2 separate regions of the Homo sapiens genome follow, and region 1 is linked to region 2. Evidence: promoter capture Hi-C in 16 types of primary human blood cells and fetal thymus (Javierre and others, 2016). All regions are on one chromosome and are shown on one strand. Each heading gives the region's core, a stretch centred on a gene start or on the middle of the fragment in contact. The rest is flanking DNA. Distances are from core to core; before and after follow the strand shown.

What was found. The method cuts DNA at HindIII sites, captures the fragments that hold promoters and counts their contacts. A CHiCAGO score of 5 or more calls a contact.
Region 1: a contact is called between a fragment that was not itself captured here and the fragment with the promoter of ASH2L in region 2, in 1 of 17 cell types (fetal thymus). The highest score is 5.2, in fetal thymus.

The regions. Positions count from the first base shown.
Region 1 is chr8:38,771,074-38,777,998 of GRCh38, forward strand. It overlaps a transcript of TACC1 not described here. Among named protein-coding and RNA genes, the nearest start is that of TACC1, 13 kb to the right of the region's middle. The HindIII fragment of the contact is 2,473 bases long and covers 3,319-5,791 here.
Region 2 is chr8:38,100,175-38,107,516 of GRCh38, forward strand. It overlaps ASH2L (ASH2 like, histone lysine methyltransferase complex subunit), which reads left to right and starts at 5,355. Exons shown (of 16, transcript NM_004674.5): 1 at 5,355-5,564; 2 at 6,204-6,270; 3 at 6,847-6,992. The coding sequence starts at 5,377. RefSeq lists silencers at 2,653-2,941, 5,123-5,212, 5,543-5,742 and an enhancer at 5,323-5,452. The HindIII fragment of the contact is 22,171 bases long and covers 1-7,342 here.

The sequences.
Region 1 (6,925 bases), core at 3,305-5,804, 670 kb after region 2:
TCATTGAAAAAGTTTGGCAAGGTTGTCAGGAGACATGAATTAGATGGGCTTGGGTCTTGTGCCCTTTGCTAAACCAAGTGCTGTATTGGGAAAGAGACGGGGAGAGAAGTGTTGGAGATGCTCTTTAGTCAGGCCTGAGTCACTTGCCCAACCCTGGAGTTGGAGTTGGGGATGGAGCCAGGATCTCCAAACCACATGCCCCTAGAGTTTCAGGGAAAATATGGATTGTGAATTGAAGATGGGGGGTGATGTAAGGCAGACAAGGACAGAAAATCCCTCTTCCAGCTGTGATTTGGCTGTGAGTTTGGCGCTCGAGACACCATACGCTCCTGAGGTTTGTTAAGGGGTTTCAGGATATTGTGGACAAAAGGGAATAGCAAACGATGTTCAGTCCATAAGTACCATTTGGAGGAGGAAATAATTGAAATTGCTGCTGATCAAAAAGCTTTTTGTCTCCAGTTTGGATGTTGGAGACAGGTTTCTGTGTAAGAGAGTGAGGGTGTACAACATGACTGAGAAAGAAAACAATGAGTTAAGGCACATAAGTGCGCATGGGTGTCACCTGGAGGCCTTCTTATAACACAGATGGTCAGGCCCACCCCAAGTTTCTCATGCAGTAGAGGTGGAGCTCAAGAATTTGCATTTCTATTTTACTTTATTTATTTGCTTTATTTATGTTTGAGACAGGGCCTTGCTCTGTTGCATGGGCTGTAGTACAGTGGTGCAATCATAGCTCACTGCAGCCTCCAACTCCTGGGCTCAAGTGATCCTCCCAACTCAGCCTCCCTCCCAAGTAGTGAGGACTACAATCACACGCCACCATGCCTGGCTGTATAATTTGCACTTCTAAGGTGTTCCCAGGTGATGCTGATGTTGCTGGCCCAGGGACCACACATTCAGTACTGCTGTTAAGGCAAAAGACTTAAACACTCCATATATGAAAGAAAGAAAAAGAGAGAGAGAGAGAGAGAGAGAGAGAGGAAGGAAGGAAGGCAGGCAAGCAGGCAATGCTTCAATAAATCCATTAAAACACATTCAAACTTCAGAAATAAACGTGTTCAAATAAGACCAGCAGTCCTTGGTGGTGGCTTATCATTTCACCCATTTGACAGTTTTAAAAGATTGACCGAACTCAGTATTGATTAAGGTTTAGGGGAAAGGCTGTCTCATATACTGTGTTTACAAATGTGAATGAGTACAGCCTTTCCAGAGGGCAGTTTGGCTATGTGTATCAAAATATAAAATGTGTTTGTTTTGACACTACAATCTCACTTCTAGAATTTTACTCTAAGAAAAGATAAGTGTGTGAAAAGAAATTTAAGTGTGTGAAAAGATGCATATGCATGGGATTGCTCATCACGGTTTCATTTATAATGAGGAACAGCAAACCCGTTAAATATCCCTCCATGGGGAGCAAGTCAGGCAAATTCTGTACAGACACACAAAGGCATGTTATGCAGTGAAGAGAAGGAGGCACATGTGGGTTCTGCAGAGAGGCAGATCCCAATGAGGGGTCAGGACGGGTCTTGGCTGCACATCCTGGTTTCCTCTTCATCCATGGGGAGCAGCACCTTATGAAGAAAACAAGCGGCATAATGAATAAATACTCACCTCTAGCAAAAGATAATATGTATAATTAAATCAATAAATATTAATTTGTTAAATGTTAATAAATGTAAATAAATATTCATATATATTAACGTGTTGATTTAAATATTACTATTCATTAATATAAACAATAAATTGATACTTGTTAACATTAAATATCAATAAATTTTATGTATTAATATAAATAAACACTAATAAAACAAATATTTAAACATGCATAAAGTACTCACCTCTATTGATTAAGGTTTGTATTAAGGTTTATAATATTAAGGTTTAATAATTAAGGTTTATTGTTGTATTAATACTTAACCTGAATAAGTACTCACCTCTAGCAAAAGACAAAACGTATACTTAATAAACACTAGGCCCGGCGCGGTGGCTCACGCCTGTAATCCTAGCACTTTGGGAGGCCGAGGCAGGTGGATCACAAGGTCAGGAGTTTGAGACCAGCCTGACCAACATGGTGAAACCCCATCTCTATTAATTATACAAAAATTAGCCTGGCGTGGTGGCGGGCACCCGTAATTCTAGCTACTCAGGAAGCTGAGGCAGGAGAATTGCTTGAAATTGGAAAGTGGAGTTGTGGCGAGCCGAGATCATGCCACTGCACTCTAGCCTGAATGAAAGAGTAAAACTCCGTCTCAAAAAAAAATTCATTATTTTAAATATTGACATAAATATTAATATGCATATCAAATAAATTAAAATATTAATATAATATAAATTTTTATATTTAAATATTAATATTTATATTAAATAAATACTAATATAATATAAACATTAATATTTACACTGGTAAATATTAATAAAATCAATAAATATTTAAACATACATATTGTCTTTTGCCAAAAGTACTTATTCACTATTTGTGTAAAAGTATCTATCTATCTAGCTAGCTATCTATCTAGCTATCTATCTATCTAGCTATCTATCTAGCTATCTATCTGTTGTTCCATTTGTCCAAATAAGTACATGCTTGTGTATATGTAAGAGAGAGATTTGCAATCTTTATTCAGTCATCAAATATTGAGCAGAAGAAACAAGATAGGTAAGGTACTCTGTGTTCATGGAGCTTATGTCTAGTAGGGAAAGACAGATTATAAATATTAATAGAAAAACATAAATATTTCAATTCCAGATGTAAAAAGTACTTTGAAAAAGAGGGAAAAAAGGGTATATCTAGCTCACCAACATTTTAACAGTGGCTATTTATGAAAGACAATACTATGGGCAGGTTTTTCTTTCTTCTTTGAACTGCCTATGTAGTCAAAAATTCACTTTTTCAGAGACAAGGATGCTTAACATGGTCTTCTAGGCTGTCATGCCTTGTGCCTCTCCCACTTCACCAGCCTAAGCCCCTCTCCTCCCTCCAGCAGCTGCTCTTCAACCACGCTTACTCAAAACTGGAGGCTGCTTCTGTCCTTAGTGTCTTGATGAAGGAACGCTGTTACCCTACACTTCACCCAGGCAGCTTCTGCCTATCCCTGAGGCTTCAGTCTGTCACTCCTTCAGAGCAACCTCCCTTGACATCTCCACCGATGCCGTCCACCAGCCATTCTCAGAGCCCCCTGCAGTTCTTATATTTCATACATGACAATTTATATATTACATATTTATTTGTTGGCTTACTAAGCTCACTAATATGCAAGTTCTATGAGGGCAGGAACTGGGTCTCTTTTGTTCAACACAGTGTTCAGCAGAGGCTGGCAAAGCTTGGTCATTTGTCAAATTTGTGGAATGAATGAATGAATGAATGAATGAATGAACATATGTATTATTTTGCCTTAAACACTAAAGGTATTTAAAAATACATTTTTTATTATTGTTTTGAGACAGAGTCTCACTCTATAGCCCAGGCTGAAGTGCAGTGGTAGCATCACAGCTCACTGCAACCTTGAATTCCTGGGCTCAAATGATCCTCCCATCTTGGCCTCCCAAGTAGCTAGGACTACAGGTGTGCATTGCCACACCAGGCTAATTTTTTTTTGTTTTTGTTTTTGAAGGGATGGGGTCTCACTATGTTGCCTAGGCTATAAAAATATTTTTAAAGGCCAGCCACGGTGGCTCACGCCTGTAATCCCAGCACTTTGGGAGGCCGAGGCGGGCGGATCACGAGGTCAGGAGTTCGAGACCAGCCTGTCCAACATGGTGAAACCCCCTCTCTACTAAAAATACAAAAATTAGCTGGGCATGGTGGCACATGCATGTAATCCCAGCTACTCGGGAGGCTGAAGCAGGAGAATCGCTTGAACCCCAGAGGCAGAGGTTGCAGTGAGCGAAGATCGCACCACTGCACTCCAGCCTGGGTGACACGGTGAGACTCCGTCTCAAAAAAAAAAAAAAAAAAATGAAAACCAAAAACTTTTAAAACAAAGTACAAGACTATTTGTATGTATTTGCTTTATAAAACAATTTACAGTGCCTTTTAAAATGAGGTGAATTTTGGGGAGAAGTCATATCTCTATTATACATACCAAGTGGGCATATCTTTTGGGGCTGGGGGGAAACTCCAGAATTCATACCTTCATACCTTCCTTGCAAGGGTTATGAATCCTAGTTGTGCACTTTGGTGCCTGAGTAAACCTTCTTCCAAAAAGAATGATATTCGACCCAGTGATCTTTGGCAAAGGTCCTTTCCAGCTAAAAATTTCTGTGGTTCTATGAGATCTGAGATGGATGCTTAGGTTAGGAGTCAGTGATTATCTTAGTCTGTTAAGGCTACTATAAGGATATAATTGCCTGGGTGGTTTATAAACCAGTCATTTATTTCTGGAAGTTCTGGAGGATGGAGGTCCCCATGATTAAGGGACCAGCAGATTCCACATCTGGTGAAGGCTGACCTCCTGGATGTCTTCTCCCTGTGTCCTCATTTGGCAGAAGAAGGGAGAGGGAGCTGTCTGGGGTCTCTTTTATAAGGGCGCTGACCCCAGGAAGAACCCTCATGACCTAATCACCTCCCAAAGGCCCCACTTCTTAATATTCTCACATTGGAGTTTAGGTTTTAACCTATGAATTTTGGGGGGATATAAACAGTCAGTCTGTAGCAGTGATTTATCATTTGTTCAGAAAATAATGTAAAACAAATATATTCTGCTCAGTGTCTATGCCTTGGCCAAAGGAAACAGAAAACACATAAGATATTCCTATATCATACATGATGAGGTACAGGGAAGACCGGTAAGGATAAACTCGCTCTTGCTTGTCATAGTTCTATAAAATAATACAACAAAATAACTTGACTAATTGAGCCCATAAGAAAACAATTTCTAAAAATATTTTGTGTGTGTGCTAGAAATCGTCACTAGCACCAGTTAGTGTTGAAGCCAAAGAACAATGATTAATTCACTTATAGGATTTGGGTCAGTTATTATTTATTATTGTTATTATTTATCCTTAGAATTGGGCAAATATTGGAGTTATACAATCATATTATTTCAAGGAAATCTCCCCAAAGAAAATAATAACCTTCATCAATATGTAAATCCATTCTACTTGGCCTTTGTGAAATCTAAATATTGACTCCCTCCTTCTTCAACGTTTTTGTCCACATCAGTCATCTTTAAAAATGCAACTGCCTAATTTCTAGAAAGTCAGTATCACAGCTCAAGTCATTACGGCAGAAGGAAGGGTAGTCTCAGTCCTGTTTTTAGGATAATTAGGACATCATCCACGGGGCAGGCTTGAGTCTTTTGGTTCGGGAATTTTCTGCCCTGAGAAAAGACATCATTGAGATACAGGTAGAGTGTTCCTTATCCAAAATGCTTAGGACCAGAAGTGTTTCAGATTTTAGATTTTGGAATATTTGCATATACATAATGAGATAGCTTGGGGATGGGACCCAAGTCTAAACATGAGATTCATTATGTTTCATATACACCTTCTACACATAGCCTGAAGGTAATTTTAAACAGCAGTTGTAATAATTTTGTGCATGAAACAAAGTTTTGACTGTGTTTTGACTGTGACTGGCCACATGAAATTAGGTGTGGAATTTTCCACTGTGGTGTCATGTTGACAAGCAAAACGTTTTGGATTTTAGATTGTTGGATTAGGGATGCTCAACCTGTGTAGATTTATCATTTTTAAAAATGCTTCCATCTTTGAAGGAACTTTCATGTAATCCTGTTCAGAAGAATGTAGAACGAAATTTAAGGCAGGTTCTTCCCATACCTTCATCTAAGGAAGCTTAGATGCTGAAATCCCCCAGAGGAGGTTGTAATGTGAGGGTGGAGATGAGGCTGCTGTTACAAAGGGGCCCAGTGACACAGTCTGATAAAGAAGATAGACTTTTAGGCTGGGCACGGTGGCTCACGCCTGTAATTCCAGCACTTTGGGAGGCTGAGGCAGGCGGACCACCTGAGGTCAGGAGTTCGATACCAGCCTGGCCAACATGGTGAAACCCCATGTCTACTAAAAATACAAAAATCAGCTGGGTGTGGTGGCACGAGCCTGTAATCCCAGCCACTCTGGAGGCTGAGACAGGAGAATTGCTTGAACCCGGGAGGCAGAGGTTGCAGTGAGCCGAGATCACGCCACTGCACTTCAGCCTGGGCAACAGAGTGAGACTCCATCTCAAAAAAAAAAAAAAAAGAGAAGATAGACTTTTCTCTCTCATGGAACAGTCCTCAGGCAGCAATTAGTCTAGGGCCGCAGGCTGCTCTGCTCCCCAGTCAGCCTGGTGCGGGTTCTGTCTGTTCTGTGGCTCTATCCTGTCCAGAGTGTGGTCCTCACACAGCAGAAGTTGTGACACGCAGTTCACAACTTTTCGGCCGGGAGAGGCTGGACATGCAGTTTTCTTTTTAAAGACATTGGCCCAGGGGCCAGGCACAATAGCTCATGTCTATAATCCCACTGCTTCTGTAGGCCAAGGGGTGAGAATTGCTTGAGTCCAGGAATTTGAGACCAGCCTGGGCAACACAGCAAGACCCTGTTTCTACAAACAAAACAAAACAAAACAAAAAACATTAGCTGGACATGGTGGTGTGCACCTGGATTTCCAGCTACTCAAGAGGCTGAGGTGGGAGGATTGCTAGAGCCCAGGAGCTCGAGGCTATAGTGAGATATGATTACACTACTGCATTTCAGCCTGGACAATAGAGCAAAACTCTGTCTCTAAAAGAGAAAAAAAAGACACTGCCCCAAATTTGCACTTACCCCTTGTGCTCACATCCCATGGGTGAGAACTGAGTCACAGGCCACACCTAGTTGTAGAGAAGGAAACGTGGCCTCTTGCTGTGTGACCATGTGCTCAGCAAAAATTCAGAGGGTTCTTTTGCTAGAAGAAATAAGGAAATGATGGATACAGATGGATACAGGA
Region 2 (7,342 bases), core at 4,105-6,604:
GGGGCACCTGAGCCTGGGGAGGATGAGGCTGCAGTGAGCTGTGATCCTGCCACTGCACTCTAGCCTGGGCAAGAGAGCAAAACCCTGTCTCAAAAAAAAAAAAAAAAACAAAAACAAAAAATATGAGCAAGTTTTTTTTTTTCTCTTTTTTGAAGCAGGGTCTCGCTCTGTCGCTCAGGCTGGAGGGCAGTGGTGCAATTGTAGCTTGACCTCTCTGGGCTTAGTTGATCCTCCCAAATAGCTGGGACTAAAGCCACAACACCTGGCTAATATTTTGTTTTTTGTAGAGATGAGGGTCTTGCTATATTGCCCAGGCTGGTCTCAAATTCCTGGGCTCAAGTAATCTTCCTGCCTCGGCCTCCCAAAGTGCTGGGATTACAGACATGAGCCACTATCTTTGGCCGGGAATATAATTATTAGTATACAACTGATCAAATGTAGTCTATAGATTGATAATTAAACATAAAAGTCAAAATTTTATTGAAGCTGTAATTCTTAATGGGACTGAGCATTTATTTTTTCAATTCATATGTTCATGAATAAGTATCATTATTGCTAGAATGAGAGGTTTAGCATCGATTACTATTTTTTTTTTTTTTTGAGACTGACTCTTGCTCTGTTACCTCGGCCGGAGTGCAGCGGTGCGATCTCGGCTCACTGCACCTCCACCTCCTGGGTTCAAGCGATTCTCCTGCCTCAGCCTCCCGAGTAGCTGGGACTACAGGCGCGTGCCACCACACCCAGCTAACCTTTTTTTTTTTTTTTTTTTTTTTTGTATTTTTAGTAGAGACAGGGTTTCACCGTGTTAGCCAGATGGTCTCTATCTCCTGACCTCGTGATCCACCCACCTCGGACTCTGAAAGTGCTGGGATTACAGGAGTGAGACACCATGCCTGGCCTATTTTTCATTTTTTTTTAAGAGACTTGTTCTCACCATGTTGCTTGCATTAATGTTGCCCAGGCTTGCCTCCAACTCTTGGACTCAAGATCCTCTCACTTCACCTGTCCCGAATAGCTGGGACAGGCATGCATCACCACACCCAGCATTTTTCATTTTTATAGATAAAAGAGCTGACAACTTTTCTTTACATAAATTAGCATTTTCCCACCCAGGATTTATGAAGCAATGGAACTCAATTCTTTGAACTCCTTCAAAGTTCTATGTCAGGGCCAGGCACAATGGCTCATGCCTGTAATCCCAACACTTTGGGAGGCCGAGGCGGGTGGATCACCTGAGGTCAGGAGTTCCAGACCAGCCTGGACAGCATGGTGAAACCCCATCTCCACTTAAAATACAAAAAATTAGCTGGGCGTGGTGCCACATGCCTGTAATCCCAGCTATTCAGGAGGCTGAGGCAGGAGAATCTCTTGAACACTGGAGGTGGAGGTTGCAGTGAGCTGAGACCGTCACATTGCACTCTAGCCTGGGGAACAAGAGCAAAACTCAGTCTCAAAAAAAAAAAAAAAAAAAAAGTTCTATGTCAGATTATGGTGATCTACCACTAACACCTTTTTTTTTTTCAAGTTTTAATTTTCTGGCCAGGTATGGTGGCTCACGCCTGTAATCCCAGCACTTTGGGGGGCTGAGGTGGGTGGATCACATGGGGGTCAGGAGTATGAGACCAGCCTGGCCAACACGGTAAACCCCGTCTCTACTAAAATAAAAAATTAGCCTGGTGTGGTGGTGGGTACCTGTTATCTCAGTACTTTGGGAGGCCGAGGCAGGTGGATCACCTGAGGTCGGGAGTTCCAGGCCAGCCCTGACCAACATGGAAAAACCCCATCTCTACTAAAAACACAAAATTAGCTGGGCATGGTGGTGCATGCCTGTAATCCCAGCTACTCAGGAGGCTGAGGCAGGAGAATCGCTTGAACCCAGGAGGCGGAGGTTGCAGTCAGCCAAGATCACGCCATTGCACTCCACCCTGGGCAACAAGAGCAAAACTCTGTCTCAAAAAAAAAAAAAAATTTATAGAGACAGGGTCTTGCTTTGCTGCCTAGGCTGGTCTTGAACTCCTAGCTTCAAGCAATCTTCCTGCCTCCTGCCTTGGCCTCCCAAAGTGCTGGGATTACAGGCATGAGCCACTGCACCCAGCCAACATATTTTCTAGAATGTCTTTCAACTTGGATTCATCTGATGCTTTCTCTTGATTAGACTTGGATTATGGATTTTGGGGAATACCAAAGAGATGAAGTTGCCATCTCATTGTATATCGGGGGGTATATTTATAATTTTTTTTTTTTTGAGACGGAGTCTCGCTCTGTCCCCCAGGGTGGAGTGCAGTGGTGCGATCTCAGCTCACTGCAAGCTCCACCTCCTGGGTTCACGCCATTCTCCTGCCTCAGCCTCCCAAGTAGCTGGGACTACAGGCGCCCGCCACCACGCCCGCTTAATTTTTTGTATTTTTAGTAGAGACGGGGTTTTGCCTTGTTAGCCAGGATGGTCTCGATCTCCTGACCTCGTGATCCACCTGCCTCGGCCTCCCAAAGTGCGGGGATTACAGGCGTAGGCCACTGCGCCCGGCCTATAATTTTTAACTGGTTATATTAACCTGACCACTTGGGTAAGGTGGTGTGTTCGCCCATTTCTGCACCGTAAAAACTACTATTTTCTACCAAGAGGAAAAAGAAAATAAATAAAAAATAAAAATTACTATTTTTTTCTTTTTTTTTTTTTTTTTGAGACGTAGTTTCACTCTTGTTGCCCAGGCTGGAGTGTAATGGCGCGATCTCGGCTCACTGTAACCTCGCCTCCCGGGTTCAAGTGATTCTCCTGCCCCAGCCTCCTGAGTAGCTGGGATTACAGGCATGCGCCACCACGCCTGGCTAATTTTGTAGTTTTAGTAGACACGGGGTTTCTCCATGTTGGTCAGGCTGGTCTCGAACTCCTGACCTCAGGTGATCCGCCCGCCTCGGCCTCCCAAAGTGCTGGGATTACAGGCATGAGCCACCGCGTCTGGCCATGTTATTTTCTTTTTCTACATTCTATTAGTTAGAAGCAAGTCACTGAGTCCAGCCCACACAATCAAGGGGAGGGGGGTATTAAAGAATTTGTGTGGAGGCATGATGGCTCACTCCTGTAATCCCAGCACGCTGGAAAGCCCAGGCAAGAGGATCGCTTGAGCTCGGGAGTTGGAGACTAGTCTGAGCAACATGATGAGACCCTGTCTCTACTAAAAATTAAGAAAATTAGCTGGGCGTGCCGGGAGCAGTGGCTCACGCCTGTAATCCCAGCACTTTGGGAGGCCGAGGCAGCGGATCACAAGGTCAGGAGATTGAGACCATCCTGGCTAAAAAACGGCAAAAACCCTGTCTCTATTAAAAATACAAAAAATTAGCTGGGCGCGGTGGCGGGCGCCTGTAGTCCCAGCTACTCGGGAGGCTGAGGCAGGAGAATGGTGTGAACCCGGGAGGTGGAGCTTGCAGTGAGCGGAGATTGCACCACTGCACTCCAGCCTGGGCGACAGAGCAACACTCCGTCTCAAAAAGAAAAAAAAAAAAAAGAATATTAGCTGGGCGTGGTGGCTCGTGCCTATAGTCCCTGCTACTCAGGAGGCTAAGGCAGGAGGATTGCTTTACCCGGGGAACTTGAGGCGGCAGTGAGGTATGATGCCGCCACTGCTGCACTCCAGCCTGAGCGACAGTGCGAGACTCTGTCTCAGAAAAAAAAAAAAAAAACACACAGGTGAAACCCCGTCTCTACTAAAGATACAAAAATTAGCCAGGCGTCATGGCGCGTGCCTGTAATCCCAGCAACTCGGGAGGCTGAGGCAAGAGAATCGCTTGAACCCGAAACCGCGAGGTGGAGGTTGCAGTGAGCTGAGATCGCGCTACTGCACTCAGCCTGGGCGACAAACCGAGACTCCGTTTCAAAAAAAAAAAAAAAAAGCCGTGCGCGGTGGCTCACACCTGTAATCCCAGCACTTTGGGAGGCCCAGGTGGGTGGATCACTTGAGGTCAGGAGATCGACACCAGCCTGGCCAACATGGTGAAACCCCGCCTCTACTAACAAAAATTAGCCGGGCGTGGTGACAGATACCTGTAATCTCAGCTACTCGGGAGGCTGAGGTAGGAGAATCGCTTGAACCTGGGGTGGAGGTTGCAGTGAGCCGTGATCGGGCCACTGCGCTCCAGCCTGGGCGACAGAGCGAGACTCTGTCTCAAACAAACAACAACAAGAAAACACAAAATTCTGCGACCATATGTTAAAACTGCTACAATACTACGTATTTGGGAGGAGATACTTAGATCAAGCATCCTGCTTCTCTTTGGAGTACCAACCCCTGATTTAAGTATTTATCATCAATTTTAAAAATGTAACCTGGCAACTCAGTTAGGTCTTTCTTCAATTTTGTTGAAAACCAATAATTGAGAACCAATTGGGAAATCAATATCTACGTATTTCCCATGGCGTCCAGTGGCCCAGAGATTCCTACACTATCGGTGGACACATCACAGTAAGATTAGACTGAGGATTGGCGAGGGGTGCGCCGTTCTTGTGTAAAGCGGGAGAAGAGTGTATTATCGTTAGGCAACATTTTAGGATATAGGATAAACACTGGTGTCCTGAAAACGTTCCTGGCCGCAACACTCTCAGAGGTTTGCATTCTCGAGTTTGGAGACCATGGCTCTGAAAGACTCAACTCACTCCACTGATGCCAGCCACCAGCTACTGTTGATGACTTCCCAAGTTCGTACTTTCAGTCCACACCTCTTCCTTTCGCTGGGCACCAAACTTGTCTACATTCCGAGTGCCCCGGCACACCCCGGGGCTTCGCTTTCCGCCTCTCACAGTAGGAAGCGGCGAGCCGCTTCTAGTGCCCACGCCGCTCCTCGGCTGCCCGGCCTGGGTTTTCCACCCTCGCCCCTGGAATCGGCCTCCCTAGATTCCCTTCCCTCTTAAAATCATTTGGAAACGGGCTCCAAGGGGCGACCCTGCGCAGAAAACCAAATTCCATCCGGGGCGGGCAGGGAGTGCTAGACTCCAAGGAAGACGTTTCCCACATTCGGTGGTGAGGAGTGTTTGGCGGCACGGCACGGCCAGCGCTCTCAAGGACCCTCTTCTGCGCAGAATATCCAGTCGTAGCCACGAAAATACGCCGCGTCAGTCCCTGACTCGAAAGGAAGTCCTCCAGAGAGCCGCACTAACCATCTAGCTTCCTCCACCTTCAGCCTGCCAGGCCCGCGGCCACCGCCGGCGCGGGAGGCCGGCCCACCTCTGCCCGCGCGCCTGGCCTTAAAGCGGTCGTGGAATTATGCTTCCTCAGGCAGGCGGTGGACGCACCGCGGGCTTTTTCTGTTTGAAGACTACAGCGTCACACAGCAACGCGCGCGAGAGAAGAGAGTATTCTCGCGAGAAGTCCAGGGGTGGCCGTGATGGCGGCGGCAGGAGCAGGACCTGGCCAGGAAGCGGGTGCCGGGCCTGGCCCAGGAGCGGTCGCAAATGCAACAGGGGCAGAAGAGGGGGAGATGAAGCCGGTGGCAGCGGGAGCAGCCGCTCCTCCTGGAGAGGGGATCTCTGCTGCTCCGACAGTTGAGCCCAGTTCCGGGGAGGCTGAAGGCGGGTAAGAGGTCCTGCCGCCCGAGGAAGACGCGGGAGGGAGGCCCGCCCCTCGCGAATCCCGCGGCTCCTGGAGCCCTGCCGCCCGCCCCCTGCGAACCCAGGCCCCGCCGCCAATGGCTCGCCCTGCCTCTGCGCCGCTTGGCCCGTCCCCTCTCAAGCATATCTCGGATAACGCCCCTTCCGCACCTTTCACGGGCGGTGGGAGCTGAGGCTCCTGTCGTTATCTCTGATCCTTGCACCCTGGCAGGAAGCTGGTAGCTCACACTTTAACGGGAGGCCTTCACATATTCCAGAAAAGAAACCACTTTGCAGTGCCAGACTGGAAGAAGTAACGGTCACTCTGAAAACAGGGTGGGAGAGCTGCCTCTCTTTGAACCTCTCCCAGGACCAACTCTAACCCAGGTAGATTTGACTGTAAAGGCCGGTTAGGCTTCCCTGTGCTCCGTGGGTCCGCGACTGTCTGACATGTCCACCTTCTCAGTATCCTGACAGTACCTTGGGCATCCAGTCTGAGATCAGGCTTAGCTGAAAAAGCTGCAGGAGTATGAAGTTCGGCTGTAATTTGATCATCATTTTTGGGAATAGGCATTTTGAGGTTTGTCTTGAGAATTCTTACTTGAGCGCTTTCATTATCTTATAGGGAGGCAAACTTGGTCGATGTAAGCGGTGGCTTGGAGACAGAATCATCTAATGGAAAAGATACACTAGTAAGTATTTTTAGTTGTTTGCAAGACAAAATAGGGTTTGTTTTAGTTATTTCTTCTTCTTCTTTTTTTTTTTTTTTTGTTGCGACGGAGCCTTGCTCTGTCGCCCAGGCTGGAATGCAGTGGCGCGATCTCGGCTCACTGCAACCTCCTCCCCCCGGGTTCCAGCGATTCTCCTGCCTCAGCCTCCCGAGTATCTGGGATTACAGGCATCTGCCAACACACCTGGCTTCTTTTTTTTGTCTTTTTAGTAGAGACGGGGTTTCACCATGTTGGCCAGGCTGGTCTCGAACTCCTAACCTCAGTTGATTCTCCCGCCTCAGCCTCCCAGAGTGTTGGGATTACAGGCGTGAGCCACCGCGCCCGGCCTTGTTTTTACATTTTTAAGCGAATCAAAAATACATTCAGGCCAGGCACGGTGGCTCATGCCTGTAATCCCAGCACTTTGGGAGGCTGAGACCTCAGGATCACTTGAGACCAGCCTGGGCAACATAGGGAGACCCCCGTCTCTTAAAAAAATAAAATAAAGTAAAATACATTCAAGTCAACTGATTTGAGTCTCGAACTGCTCTGACACAGGAAGGTGCTGGGGATACATCAGAGGTGATGGATACTCAGGCGGGCTCCGTGGATGAAGAGAATGGCCGACAGTTGGGTGAGGTAGAGCTGCAATGTGGGATTTGTACAAAATGGTTCACGGCTGACACATTTGGCATAGATACCTCGTGAGTACTTTTCATAGTTTTTGTGAGAATTGCTCGGTAAAATAAATCTGAACATGCTCAACAGTTACTTTGTGGGCAAAATAAATGCAAAGTATTTCCTATGTCTCCTAACCCCTATTCAGCAAGTAGGATGTTGAATCAGGAGTTGTTTTAATTCCCTTAGCATGTTATCTGCTTACTGAGGGCACAGCTCTGGTAGATACAATGGTGGGTATTGCCCCTCCTTTTGAGTTGACAACCTGGTTTGGAGACAAAAAAAAATGCAATTACAAAGTGTTATATAAACAAATTTAGAACAATATAAACCTTGTGTTGGTGTTTTGGATTTTTCAGAAAGGATATATGTGGAT